3 separate regions of the Homo sapiens genome follow, and regions 1 and 2 are each linked to region 3. The links are contacts of gene promoters, found by promoter capture Hi-C in blood cells and fetal thymus (Javierre and others, 2016). All regions are on one chromosome and are shown on one strand. Each heading gives the region's core, a stretch centred on a gene start or on the middle of the fragment in contact. The rest is flanking DNA. Distances are from core to core; before and after follow the strand shown.

Region 1 (4,240 bases), core at 33-2,532, 740 kb before region 3:
GGTTTAGACTACTTCATTGTCTTCCACCCAGGAGAGGCGTGGAGTGGGTGCGAGTCCCTTGGTCACCAACCCAAGTCTCTGCTTCCCTGTACCCCTTCACAGAAGCCCCTTCAGTGGCTTCAAGTGGCAGTGCTGGCTGGAGCTGACTCCGCCTTCCTGAACAGCCCACGTCCCTGGAACAGGCCACCTGCCTGGAACACACTCAGGGTCTGGGGTCTCCTGGGCAGATTGCTCAGGCAGCCCCTTCCTAGCCTGGGCAGGGACCCCAGGGTCACTTCTCCCCTCTAGGGCTGGAATTCGAGCGCTGGCTCAATGCCACAGGCCCGCCGCTGGCTGAGCCGGACCTGTCTCAGGGATCCAGCCTGACCCGGCCCGTGGAGGCCCTTTTCCAGCTGTGGACCGCAGAACCTCTGGACCAGGCAGCTGCCTCGGCCAGCGCCATTGACATCTCCAAGTGGAGGACCTTCCAGACAGCACTCTTCCTGGACCGGCTCCTGGATGGGTCCCCGCTGCCGCAGGGTGAGTCCCTGCAGCTGATGGGGGCGGCCCAGGGGCTGGGGTGCAACAGCGGCCCAGCCCTGACCTGCCCCCTGCGCTGCAGAGGTGGTGATGAGCCTGTCCAAGTGCTACTCCTCCCTGCTGGACTCGATGAACGCTGAGATCCGCATCCGCTGGCTGCAGATTGTGGTCCGCAACGACTACTATCCTGACCTCCACAGGGTGCGGCGCTTCCTGGAGAGCCAGGTGCGGTCACCTGCCCAGGGGGCCAGCCTGGAACGGCCTAGCCGTGCGGACTGGGAGTCCCACCCGACTCCCTAGTCTGAGCCCTTGGGGCAGGCCAGGCACATTCTGGAGAATGGGGCGGGGAAGACGTAGGGGTCTGTTGGGAGTGGGGGCATGCACCGGGTGCAGGTACCAGAGGGCAGCCTGGACTCCACCAGTTCTTGGAGAAACTGTGGAAGGGACCAGCTGGGAGCAGGAGTTTAGGGTCCAGGCCACCACAGCCTGCTGGGCCCTGGGCCTTCAGCGTCCTGGTCTGGGCAGAGGGGACGTCCCAGCTCCTCAGAGGGAGGCCAGAGCCCTCAGGCCCGTGGGCCCTGGCTGCCCTGCTCCCTGTATGTGCTCCCTCCAGCCCAGGTTCCCTGGAGATGGGGCCTCCATGGTTGGCCTGGAAGGGCAGGGTGGAGGTGGGAGGCTAATGGTAGGCCTCCTGGCCACCGGAGTCCAGGCCACAGCCCTAATGATGAAGCTGGGAAGCCAGGGGCAGGAGGGCCGCCTGGCCGGGCTGGCAGGGTGGGCTGGCTCGAGGGGCCTGGGGAGCCCACCAGTGTGACCGAGTGCCCCTCCTGCAGATGTCACGCATGTACACCATCCCGCTGTACGAGGACCTCTGCACCGGTGCCCTCAAGTCCTTCGCGCTGGAGGTCTTCTACCAGACGCAGGGCCGGCTGCACCCCAACCTGCGCAGAGCCATCCAGCAGATCCTGTCCCAGGGCCTGGGCTCCAGCACAGAGCCCGCCTCAGAGCCCAGCACGGAGCTGGGCAAGGCTGAAGCAGACACAGACTCGGACGCACAGGCCCTGCTGCTTGGGGACGAGGCCCCCAGCAGTGCCATCTCTCTCAGGGACGTCAATGTGTCTGCCTAGCCCTGTTGGCGGGCTGACCCTCGACCTCCCAGACACCACAATTGTGCCTTCTGTGGGCCAGGCCTGCCATGACTGCGTCTCGGCTCTGGCCATGAGCTCTGCCCAGGCCCACAAGCCCCTCCCCTGGGCTCTCCCAGGCAGGGAGAATGGGGAGAGGGACCTCCTTGTGTCTGGCAGAGACCTGTGGACCTGGCCTCCCCACTCCCAGCTCTCTTGCACTGCAGGCCCTGGGGCCAGCCCGCACACACCATGCCTCCTGTCTCAACACTGACAGCTGTGCCTAGCCCCGGATGCCAGCACCTGCCAGGTGCCGCCCCGGGGCAAGGGCCCCAGCAGCCCTATGGTGACCGCCACACTGTGCCTTAATGTCTGCCGGGGGCCCAGGCTGTGCTGTCCCTGCAGCACGCCTCCTTGCAGGGATCTGAGCCACCCTCCCCGCACAGCCCTGCACCCCGCCCCTGGGGTTGGCAGCCTCAGTTGGCCCCTGGCAGAGGAACAAGGACACAGACATTCCCTCAGTGTGGGGGGCAGGGGACACAGGGAGAGGATGGTTGTCCCTGGGGAGGGCCCTCTGGCCCCAGGCAACCTTAGCCCCTCAGAACAGGGAGTCCCAGGACCCAGGGAGAGTGTGGGGACAGGACAGCCTGTCTCTTGTAGCTTCCTGGGGTGGGAGGCACAGGGGCAAAGCAATACCCCAGGGAAAGTGGGAGGTGGTGCTGGTGCTCTCTCCAGGCCCACCATGCTGGGAGAGGCGGCCAGAGCCTGGGGCCTCCAGCCTGGGACTGCTGTGATGGGGTATCACGGTGATGGTCCCATTAAACTTCCACTCTGCAAACCTGATCTCCTGCGCTCTTTCTCGCGACTCTTGTCCTCTGCATCTTCCTGGCTGTGTAGGGTGGGCTGGCCTGCCGGGACTTGGGGCCTGGAGCTGGTCAGGAGCTGGGTGTGGCCCCCTCCTCTGATACATAAGCCCGAGAGCAGGCTCCCCGAATCCTGCCCAGCCCCTTGGCTGGACCCCCTGGGCCTGAGTAGCCTCTGGATGTCACAGGAAAGCCATGTGTCACCTTCACTCTGGGCCTTCACCTGTGGCTTAAGCCAAATCCCGGCCTCAGTGGTGATCCTTTCCCAAGATGGGTACAAGGTGACAGGCATGTTTTGTTTTGGAGAACTGAGATTTCCATTTTCCCAGGCGATAGGTGTCGCTGCCCTTCACAGTCCCCAAGGATGTGGCGCCACCATCTCAGTGCCACGCACACCTGGCCAACATGCCGTGGCCCAGAAGCAGCACGTCTCTTCTCCCAACCCGCTGGCCAGGCCCAGTCACAGCCCCACTCCACACATGGCAGCCAGGAAGTGGGGAGGGCAGGAGGTGCTGGGCAAATAACCCTGATACCATCACTGTCCAGTCCCCAGTCACCAAATGTCCCACTCACCCTCCTTCCTGTTCTGGATGCCCCGCCCCTCCCCTCCCCTCCCAAGGACATATGAGTCCCCTCCAGTGGCGGTGGCAACTCTGGTCTAGGGTCTGGGGCCGTCTCTACATGTGTTGCTTCATGTACCTTCTTCACATCAGGTCTGGGGGAGGCGCCACCCCATCCAGAGACCTAGGAACTAGAAGACTGCCACTGCCCCTCACACCCAGGGATAGGATGACTGCAGTAACCCCTGTGAAAGCGGGTATGGAGGGCACCTGGCAGCCCCTGCTGCATGGCCATCTAAAGTCTTGCCAGGCAGGCACAGCTAGGGCCCCTGCCTGGGAGTGGACACCCCACTCCCCCAAGTCATGTTCTCTGTGGCCTGGGGCTCCAGCCTTGGGAGGACCCCTTTCCTGTTTCTTAACCATGCTTGATGGTGTCCTCAAAGGAGCCCTGCTCAGTGGCAGAACTGCTTTCTCAGCCTCTTCCCCGCCAAGGTTGTTTTCAAGTCCCAGCAGTCACAGACTTTCATCCTGGGCTCTTCTTTCTTTTGCAATTCAGCTCTCGAAATGACTCTGTGGTCTGCGGGTGACTCCACTCCACGTGCCTACAGCCACGCCCACAGCGCCACCTCCGGACGCTGCTGAGCTGCGCACCTGTGCCTGACACCTGGCTTTGGGAAACTCAGCAGCAGTGCCCAGCGTCATGACCCTGGGGGCAGGAGGGCATCTGGATCCAGGATGGCACCCTCACCACAATCTGTCTTGGCTCTGTGCCCGCCCGTGGGGTACACAGGAGGGCTCTTTCAGCCCTAAGTCCTTGTGTTCCTGACCTTTGTTCCTCTTCCACCCAGCTTGCAAGTGCAGAATTTTTTTTTAGCTCGTCGCTTCCCTGCAGTCCCTTGTCCAATGCAGCCTCCGGCCGATACTCAGGCCAGTGTTGTTTCCCAACCTCTCCACTAGATACGCACACTTAGCTCACGGTCTGCCTCATGAGTCATCCCAGTTGAGCTTTACCAAATGTTTTGCCCCACCTAACAGCCTGCCCACATTCCAAATCCTGGCAGGTCGCACGTTTTATTAGCACAGCACCCCTCTCCTAGCGGCCAGCTTCTCTATTAGGCCACGTTATGCTCCAGCCACACAACTATGAAGCGCAGACGTCTCACACAACAAAGCT
Region 2 (4,132 bases), core at 668-3,167, 760 kb before region 3:
GAGAGGTTCCGGCAAAGCCAGTTTAGGACAGCCTATGCGAACCACAGTTCTTGCTGTGCTTTGTGTGGGTGATCAGGGCACCAGGAAACTGAAGCTTATTTTGCAAGTAGGTTGTCCTACTGTTATTTGTCTTTGATGCAAGTGGGGGAATGGAAAGAGATTGTCTTTTAGAAGAAAACTCTATTTAGATTAACCTTTGATTCCTAAGTGACCACATGGTCACCCATGGTATGGAGCTGCCCACAACGCCCCTCCTCAGCATGGAGCAGCCAGAAAGACCCACAACCTGATTCCCCATGGTTGAGGAACTGATAAACAAAAAGGGGGGACTGAAACCAGCCCAGTAATCCTACAGAGAGTTGTTTCCAGATAAACATAGAAATTGACCCTTCTGGTCTTAAAGCTTGAAACTTAAATTTGTTTTATCTGAGTTTCTTCCTCAGGAAAGACCTTCAGGCCTCTCAAAAAGTATCAAAGAGCTGAAACTCCTCTCAGAAAGTATCAAAGAACTGAAACTCACCAGACCATGGCATTCAATGTGACTCCAGGCCCTTTGTTCACCGTGACTGCTTCCTCACCCCTCCCAAGTTCCTGCTTTCTCACACATTATTACATTTCTTCCTTGATATATAAACCCCTAGTTTTAGTCAGGGGGATGGATTTGAGATTAAGCTCCCATCTCTTCAGCTGCACCTCCAAATTACAGCCTTCTTCCTTGGCAATACTCATTGTCTCAGTGATGGGCTTTCTGTGCAGGAAGCGGAAAGATCTAGAGCGAACCCCTGGTGTTTCAGTAACAGCCACTCATATTGGCTCAGAATAAACCTCTTTAAAATATTTTGCAGAGTTTGTTTTTTTTCTGTTGACACCATTAATATGGCATTCTCACAAGGGCAAAATTCTAGGCCAAAATAGATCAGCCACAGTTTGTTGAAGGAGACATTTATTACAAAGGCCATGGCAATATTTTGAGGGTGATGGAACTGTTTGTATATCCTGACTACAGTAGTAGTTACACAACCCTGTAATTGTCAAAAATTTCAGAACTATATATTAAAATGGGTGAATTTTACTGTAAATTATACTGTAATAAAAGGGGGAAAGGCATCTGTATTTGAAAGACTAGGCATGTTCTCCATTTAAAAAGGCACATTTCAAACATTATGTGTACAGTGATCCAGTTTACATATTTAAAAATAAACACGTGCGTTTCTTAAATCTAAAGGACATGTAACAATTTGCTGGTATCCCTCTGGGGAATAAAATGCAAGGAGGCTTTTATTTTCAGTCTATATCCTTATTATTGGTACCATTTTAATCATTAAAAGTAAAAAAGCTACTTGTAGCTAAACAAATAAACTTCCCCAGGACCGAAATATCTTTTTGTCCAGTGGCTTAGACACACACAGCCACTTCGACCCCAGCTGAACACATGGCAGCCCCCTCACCTGGAAAAGCCGTGTCTTCATGTACATGGTGCCGTAGCCTTCTCGGTGGCTGAGGTAAAATGTGCCCGTGAAACTGGAGCCATCTGGCCACATGTAGGTACCCAGGCCATGGCAGTGGTCCCGGTAAAACTGCCCATGGTATGACTGTGAGATGGAGAAGTTGGTGAGAAATTGCTGCTCTTCCAGAACCTGACGGGATGCCCTTGAGGCTGAGCCACCATGCCTGGTTGGCAATGAATGGGGACCACCCAGGGCTGTGGCAGAACTCAGGGATGCCTGGCATGCGACTATTAGAGTCGGCAACTGAAGCACCCAGAGGGGTTACCAGGCAGTCAGCCTGATAGCCAGGCTCCCTCTCTGTCTTCTCCTCAGGTGGGGGACTGTGGGGAGGCTTAAAACTACCTAGACATCCTGAGTCAGGAGAGCACGGACATGCCTTCTCCCTGGTGACCTTGATCTTAGGTTTGGAGGGTCCTGTCCCCACTCAGGAGCCCCATGCTGCTGAGCTCCCTGCCAGGTTCACAGGTGACAGGCTGGCCCTGGAAGGCTGGCTGTAGGCCCCAGTAGGCACAGGGGAGGACTCTGATTTATAACTCTTCAGCACTGGTTGGACACGTGAGCTCCACAAACAACAGGAGTGAGTGTATCAGAGCCTGCCCCTTTACCAAGGCCCCCAGAGGGAAAAAGAATGTGACATTTGGCCGGGTGTGGTGGCTCACATCTGTAATTCCAGCACTTTGGGAGGCCGAGGCAGGCGGATCATCTAAGGTCAGGAGTTCAAGACCAGCCTGACCAACATGGTGAAACCCTGTCTCTACTAAAAATACAAAAATTAGCTGGGCGTGGTGGTGCATGCCTGTAATCCCAGCTACTCAGGAGGCTGAGGCAGGAGAATCACTAGAACCCTGGAGGCAGAGGTTGCAGTGAGCCGAGATTGTGCCATTTGCACTCCAGCCTGGGCAACAAGAGTGAAATTCCATCTCGAAAAAAAAAAAGAATGTGACATTCATGACAAGGGCTTCCAGCCAGGAGACCTCATGCTGAGTGCCAAGCACCACCTTTTTCTCAGAAACAGGGTGGGCCTGGAGTGCCCGCACAGCCATCCATGCTCACAGTCCACCCAGACCTGACCCCGACGTGAAGGGCATGGCAGTTTTCACAGCTTAGTGTCCCTTCCCTTTCTTCTGACAACAGATGCCCTCTCCCTACAGAGAGGATTCCCCAAGGGACCCAGCCCCAGTGCCTGGGCCAGGCCTGGCCAACCAGAGGACGCCTTACCCCTGCCCCATCTTGATGCACTTCATGCATCCCCAAGTCAGACCAGCGTCCTGCTGGGGCCTTTCTCTTTCCCAGGGGTGTTTGATGCCACCCCCAGGGGCTGGGCAGATGGAACAAGGTCAGTCTTAGAACCCCCTCGTGGAGATGGAAAGAGAGAGGACCTAGTTACATCATTAGAATCCTGGATCCAGCCAGGCCTGAGGCTACCTTACCCCTGGACTTTCCATGGCAAGCGCCAACAGAGGCCTTTTCAGTTTCAGCTGCATTGAATGTGGGCTCAGGACCTAGCCTGGGGGTGCAAAACTTGTTCTCATTTTGTCTTTTAGAACATTCGCTGCCTTCTGCTTAAGCCTAGACACAGGCAATTTCACCAAGGTAAATATACGAGTTGCTATGGCAATTCATAATTTTAAAACGTCTGCCCAGAATAAGAACTTATCTTCTTAAGTCACAGCTTCCCAAACCTCATCCTGGGACCCCAGCAAACCATGGGTGTGATTTTGGAAGTTGGGAAAGATGCTTTTCTCTGGACATTTCTCAAGGAGGAAAAACTTTAGCCTAGCACCCTTCCTGTTGATGGGCCTAAAAGTTCCCGTCCCATCACTCTTGGAAGGATAAAGGCCAGCCACCAGAGGCCCTAGGGGAGGAGGCGGAGAAAGTGTGGAAGCAGTTACCTCGCCTGTGGGCCAAGAGAATTTGCCATATCCAAGCTTCATGTTCAACCCAAACTCCCCCTGGTACATGCAACCATCCTGCCACTCCTGCACACCCTGGACGAGCTGGATGTAGGACTCCCTCAGGTCCTGCGCCCTCAGCGGGCCCTCAGCTTCCTCCTCTTCCTTCTCAGGGGCTGCTGAAACATCCCTAAAAGGACAGGAGCAGAAGGAGGGAAGAGTGAAGTGGCTGCAGTGCCTTCAGTGACTGCTGAGCACAACCCCCGAGCACAACCCAGCATCTCATTTCATCCCACAGTCCCGGGGCAGGTGCCGCTGCATCCCCACTCCACTTGGAGAGAAAACCGAGGCACAGAGGGTGCAGCGATTGCCCAAGGCCACACAGGAAGTGGAATGCACAGTAAGGCTGCCAACGGATAGGAGAGATGCTGCCAGGCTCTAGAGGCAGGACCAGTCGGCCTGTCCAGCCCGGGCCTGCTGGCGGCATCTCCTGAGATCGATGGCCCTCTGTCCCACTCCAGCTGCCTGCAGGACGTGGGTGCCCACAGCAGGGTCCTCATTCAAGGGCCAGGAGTGCCAGCCCCAAGCTGGACAGAAAACAGACTGCCCACACATGTGGACCCATGGAAGGTCGGAAGGCAGCTCGAGAGGCAGCCAGCTCATACTAGGATGGACAGGTGGATAGGTGGACAGATGGATGGATGCAGGGCTGGGGAGTATGCTGCAACAGCG
Region 3 (4,561 bases), core at 2,051-4,550:
TCTGACTTTAGAAATACCAAAAAATAACATGTAACCAAGTTTTAAAATATTATACACATGAAAAAAGGTTCTTTTCATTATTTTCTTGGTTTCCAGATGTTGAACGTTGTGGTGCTTTTACAATTGAAGAGAAAAAGCATTCTGACACATTATACTGGTTGGGGTTCTCTGCTTTTCTACTTGGTCAAAAACCTTTACACGCATTTTGGACTTTGTGTCATCATAACTTGGCAATTGGGAAAGCCGCATGATATGCTTCTTTCAGAACTTGGTTACTTCTTACCAAAAGAGGGAAAAGCTTTCGTATCACCATTTGCCTATGGGATGGATGCACAATGAACGGGCCATACCAAATAAAAATATCACTTTGTACTCCAAAAAGCATGTTCTCTGCTTAAGCCCTTTCTGTAAGTTTCAGCTGGGACGCACTAATGGAGAATCCATATGACCCACGAAGGATCGTAAGATATCCCAGTGGACCCGGCACAATCATCTCAAATTCTGTTCAGGTCAGAGTATCTTAGATAAAACTCACTGAAGGGCATCAAGTCCTTCAGTACACAGTCTGAGCCAAGCCCTCTACCATTTGCCATGGCAAGAGTATACCAAATTCTAAACCTGTTGCTCACGTATGCCACCAACTATAAATGTCAGCCTCCTCTTTCCTAGTCTTCCTGTCCACTCAGCACCACCTGGAAAAACTCTTACTCGTCTTTTAAACCGCAGTTCAAGGACCACATTCTGTAGGAAGACTTTCCAACAGGTAACCACTGCCTATTTCCTATGTCCACACCTTACACATATTTCTATCATTGCACTTATCACACCATAATGTAATTACTCTTCTACAAATAAGTCTCTCACACTAGACCACAAGCTGCCTGAGGAAAAGAAAAGTCTATATCCTCTTTTTTTGTTGGCTTTTTGAGACACAGTCTCACTCTGTCGCCCAGGCTAGAGTGCAGTGCTACAATCTCGGCTCACTGCAACCTCCGCCTCCTGGGTTCAAGCGATTCTCATGCCTCAGCCTCTTGAGCAGCTGGGATTACAGGCGCGCGCCACCATGCCAGGCTAATTTTTGTATTTTTAGTAGAGACAGGGTTTCACCATGTTGGTCAGGCTGGTCTCGAACTCCTGACCTCAAGTGTCCACCCGCCTCGACCTCCCAAAGTGCTGGGATTACAAGCGTGAGCCACTGCACCTGGTCGAAAAGACTATATCCTCTCAACCTTTGTATCTGCAGAACCCTTAACCCTACACAGCAATTTCCAGCAAATATTTTTTTGAATTGAAATGAAGAAGTGAGGTCATGAGGCTGAAGTCAGACAACTGGAAGGCCAAAACAACAAAACCTGGAAAAATACGTATTTACTCAAGAAGAAATTCTCCCACCAGGCCACTGAGAAGTTAGCTTTGCCCACTGGAGAGGACACTGTAACAGGGATTCAAGTAAGCCTAGTGGCGCTGAGGGACGTGATATAGGTCAACTATATCTTTGAGGTGCTCTCCTTACACTCAATGCACTTTTACCCGAATGACGTTAATTTGACTCCTGATAAGATGAGCTAAGTCCCTTCAACAGTGCTTGGCACCAAGCAAAACTAATAGCAGTAACAGGAAAGTTTAATCCTCATGATGAATTATTTAATGGGGTTTCAAACGCTGTCCCTGAGACTTGAGGCAGTAGGCTCCAGCTCCATTTTCCCCAAGTCTAAAACTTGATAGGTTGATGTTTCAGACTCAGAGATTCGGTAATCCAAATGATGGAAATAATTCTTACCCAAACACCTTTTCAACTATTTTTAAATACTGTTGCCAAGCATCCTAATATCATGTGTACTTAATGAATTTAGCCTAGGGATACTTTTACATGTCAAAAAATCAAAATATAAACCTAAGCACTACGTTTCATCCAGTGTTTCAGCATCCCAGATTTGCTTCCCTAAATGAACATTAAGCTTATTATGCAATGTGCCGCTACCAGGAGCCTTAGACAAAACCCTAATTGTGACTTAACCTATCTTAATAGGGTTTTAAGGAAGTTAGCTGCTAAGAAAGTGACTATCCTTAAGCAGACACCAAATAAATGTGAAGTCATTGATTGAGGGCTTAGGGTATAGGTAGCTATGAATCTGAGGACATAAAACGCAAAACTGAGGGGCAAATCGTCATGTTCCTTAAGATTACGACTCATCCACATTCCTTCAGCCGTTTAATTTCACCATAATAGGCACTGTTTAATAAGCAAAGCCCAAGTCGACTTCCTTCGATTTTACATGGCGTCCAAACACCATGTCAAGTCTGACCCTCTCATTTTTTAAGTCGAATGGAGAGGATATGTAGCAGCTAGCCTTGAGCACCTAACCACTTTTCAAAGGAGCTACGCACAAAAATACCCTAGCAACATGCCACGGTGTCAGAAAGGCTCAGGTTCCCAACACCATGCGGGTCAGCCATTAGGAACTCAGGAAGTGTTTCCTCTAAGCGGGGGAAACCTAGGAAGGCTTCCTGAACGAGGGGTATTTGCGCCAAGCCTTGACGTGAGTCTCGAACAGTTGCAGTGCCTCCAGGCCACGCGGGAGGGAGGAAAGGACACCCCGGGCCGGGGCACAACCCGCGGGCCGGAGCCGCCCGCGCCCATCCCGCTCAGGCCGCAGCCAGGCACGGCACCCTCCCGTCCCCGAGCCACGTCGCTGCTCGTGGGCTCGCGGAGCACTCCCCAGGTCTCACCTCGGGCCCCACACCAGAAGGAGAAAGCTAGGGGCCGCGCCAGCTCCGCCCTCCCCCGCGGGGCGGCGGGCCCCAGCCCGGGCACAGGAAGGCCACGTCCCCGGGGAGGGACGCCCGACTCGATGGTCTGCGCAGGGCCCGTCGGCCCCACGTGACGTGCGCGCAGCCAATCCCAGAGAGGCCCCCCGATCATCGAGACGGCGGCGGTGGTGGGCTAGACGAGTTTCGCGCGGCCGCTCGCCGTCCCCCGCCCAGTCGTACTCGGCGCCCCAGCTCGGTGCTGCCGCCATCTTCTTGGAGGACAGGAGGAGAGGCGAAGGCTCCCCCTCCCCGTGATCGCTCCGCACTCCCGCCACCACCTGCCCTCCCGCGACCGCCTCTCTCCTCCTCAGTGGGCACTTGTCTCCTTCTAACAAACGGCCTTCCCCCCACTCCAGTTACCCACCGCAAGGCGAAGATTCTCATTACCTGTTCCACTCTTATAAGCATAAGAAAACCGAGCTCATAAGGTAGGAACTGTGGCGAAACAGGGACAAGCCGCCATCTTGGTAAAGGAGAAGAGGCTACGCTTGACCTCCCCCCCCACCCCCAGCCTCTATATGGCCAACTGCCGTGGGAGGAGCACGGCGCTTGCGCAGAGGCGGACAACGCGGACGACTCTGGGCTTGCGCACTCGGAAGCCGGCCGCATGGGGGAGGGGAAGAAGGCCAGGTCGCACTGAGCCAGGAAGCAGTTGGCAAAGGGGCGGGGTGACGCGGTGACGCAATCCGCCTGCGCGCTGGGCGGGGCGGGGCGGGCTGGGGCGGGCTGTGAGCGGACCGCGAGCGCTGGGCGGGTCCGCGGCGCGGTCGGTCGGCGCCTGTTCTCGGGCTGTTTGGCGGGTGAGTGTCTCGCCGGTGTACCCCGCACAAGTTGTGGGCCGGCCCTCCCGAGGAGCTGCGGGGGACGCGCCGCTCGTCCCATACTCTCGGGCGGTGGTCGGCTGGCTCTGGGGTGCCGGCGGGGCGGTGTGGGGGAGGGGCGGCCGAGCCCAGGCTCTTCGGCACTTATCGTGGGCTCCCCCGTCCCGGGCGGTCCTAGTGCCGGCGACAGTGGCTCCGACACGGGCAGGCCCGGGCGCGGGAGTGGGGATTCCGGTGACCCCTTGTTGACCCTGCGGGAATTCCTCTGCACTGTCGTCGGTGCTGGGCCTCGGGGCGTCGAGTGCGGTCGAGGTCGGGAGGTTTGGTGCTTGGAGGGAGGATACAGGTTTAGGCCCGACAAACACTTAGAGCTTGTGTGGCCATCTTGTCTTTCTAACGGTGCCATTTCCTCCCTGAGGCGTGGAGGACTGGCCAGCCCCCAAACCTCCAAGCCCATCGGCTGGATGCCGTGGATAAGCGAGGGGAGAGCGACTAGGCCCTGTCTGCGGGTACCTTCGGCGAGGAGAGGCGACGAAGGTCTGCACCAGCGAGGCACGGACAGGCAGCAGGGGGTAGGGTATAGGGTTGGAGGCCGCCGAGTTGGCCCGGGGATGAGGAGCAAACCTGTGGCTTCCGTGGTCTCAGTGGAGTCCCAACTGTGACCTGGCCTACTGGCCCAGACAAACCTGGCTTGCTTTTTTACCTTTTCGGTCTAATTCTTGTCAGTGCCACCAGACCTTGTCCTCTCTCCACGGAAACACACGAACCAACTACACTGAACTTCTTGTAGTTCAAACTTCTGCACCTTTGGCCATTGCCCAAACTCTTAAATCTGGCTACTTCCCACCTTAACTGCCTTCTCCTTACCTAGTCTGTGCTTGTGGGATTCCGCCCAAATTAGATTTCCTCCAGACAGGCTTAGGTGTTTA

Evidence for each region. The method cuts DNA at HindIII sites, captures the fragments that hold promoters and counts their contacts. A CHiCAGO score of 5 or more calls a contact.
Region 1: a fragment that was not itself captured here is called in contact with the fragment with the promoter of HDLBP in region 3 in 1 of 17 cell types (neutrophils); the score reaches 6.5 in neutrophils.
Region 2: a contact is called between a fragment that was not itself captured here and the fragment with the promoter of HDLBP in region 3, in 1 of 17 cell types (neutrophils). The highest score is 5.0, in neutrophils.

Annotation. Positions count from the first base shown.
Region 1 is chr2:240,576,247-240,580,486 of GRCh38, forward strand. It overlaps RNPEPL1 (arginyl aminopeptidase like 1), which reads left to right. Exons shown (of 11, transcript NM_018226.6): 9 at 289-519; 10 at 602-744; 11 at 1,353-4,240. The coding sequence ends at 1,646. Among named protein-coding and RNA genes, the nearest start is that of CAPN10-DT, 7.9 kb to the right of the region's middle. RefSeq lists enhancers at 2,966-3,260, 3,758-3,877. The HindIII fragment of the contact is 5,908 bases long and covers 1-4,236 here.
Region 2 is chr2:240,551,466-240,555,597 of GRCh38, forward strand. It overlaps ANKMY1 (ankyrin repeat and MYND domain containing 1), which reads right to left. Exons shown (of 18, transcript NM_001282771.3): 3 at 3,401-3,590; 4 at 1,449-1,592. Among named protein-coding and RNA genes, the nearest start is that of ANKMY1, 4.5 kb to the right of the region's middle. RefSeq lists a silencer at 409-508 and an enhancer at 3,717-4,132. The HindIII fragment of the contact is 3,033 bases long and covers 402-3,434 here.
Region 3 is chr2:241,312,372-241,316,932 of GRCh38, forward strand. HDLBP (high density lipoprotein binding protein) reads right to left here and starts at 3,301. Exons shown (of 28, transcript NM_005336.6): 1 at 3,199-3,301. It overlaps SEPTIN2 (septin 2), which reads left to right and starts at 3,554. Exons shown (of 13, transcript NM_004404.5): 1 at 3,554-3,611. RefSeq lists enhancers at 2,277-2,326, 3,207-3,256, 3,277-3,376, 3,302-4,026, 4,017-4,076 and 1 more and silencers at 2,557-2,936, 3,477-3,826. The HindIII fragment of the contact is 7,846 bases long and covers 1,957-4,561 here.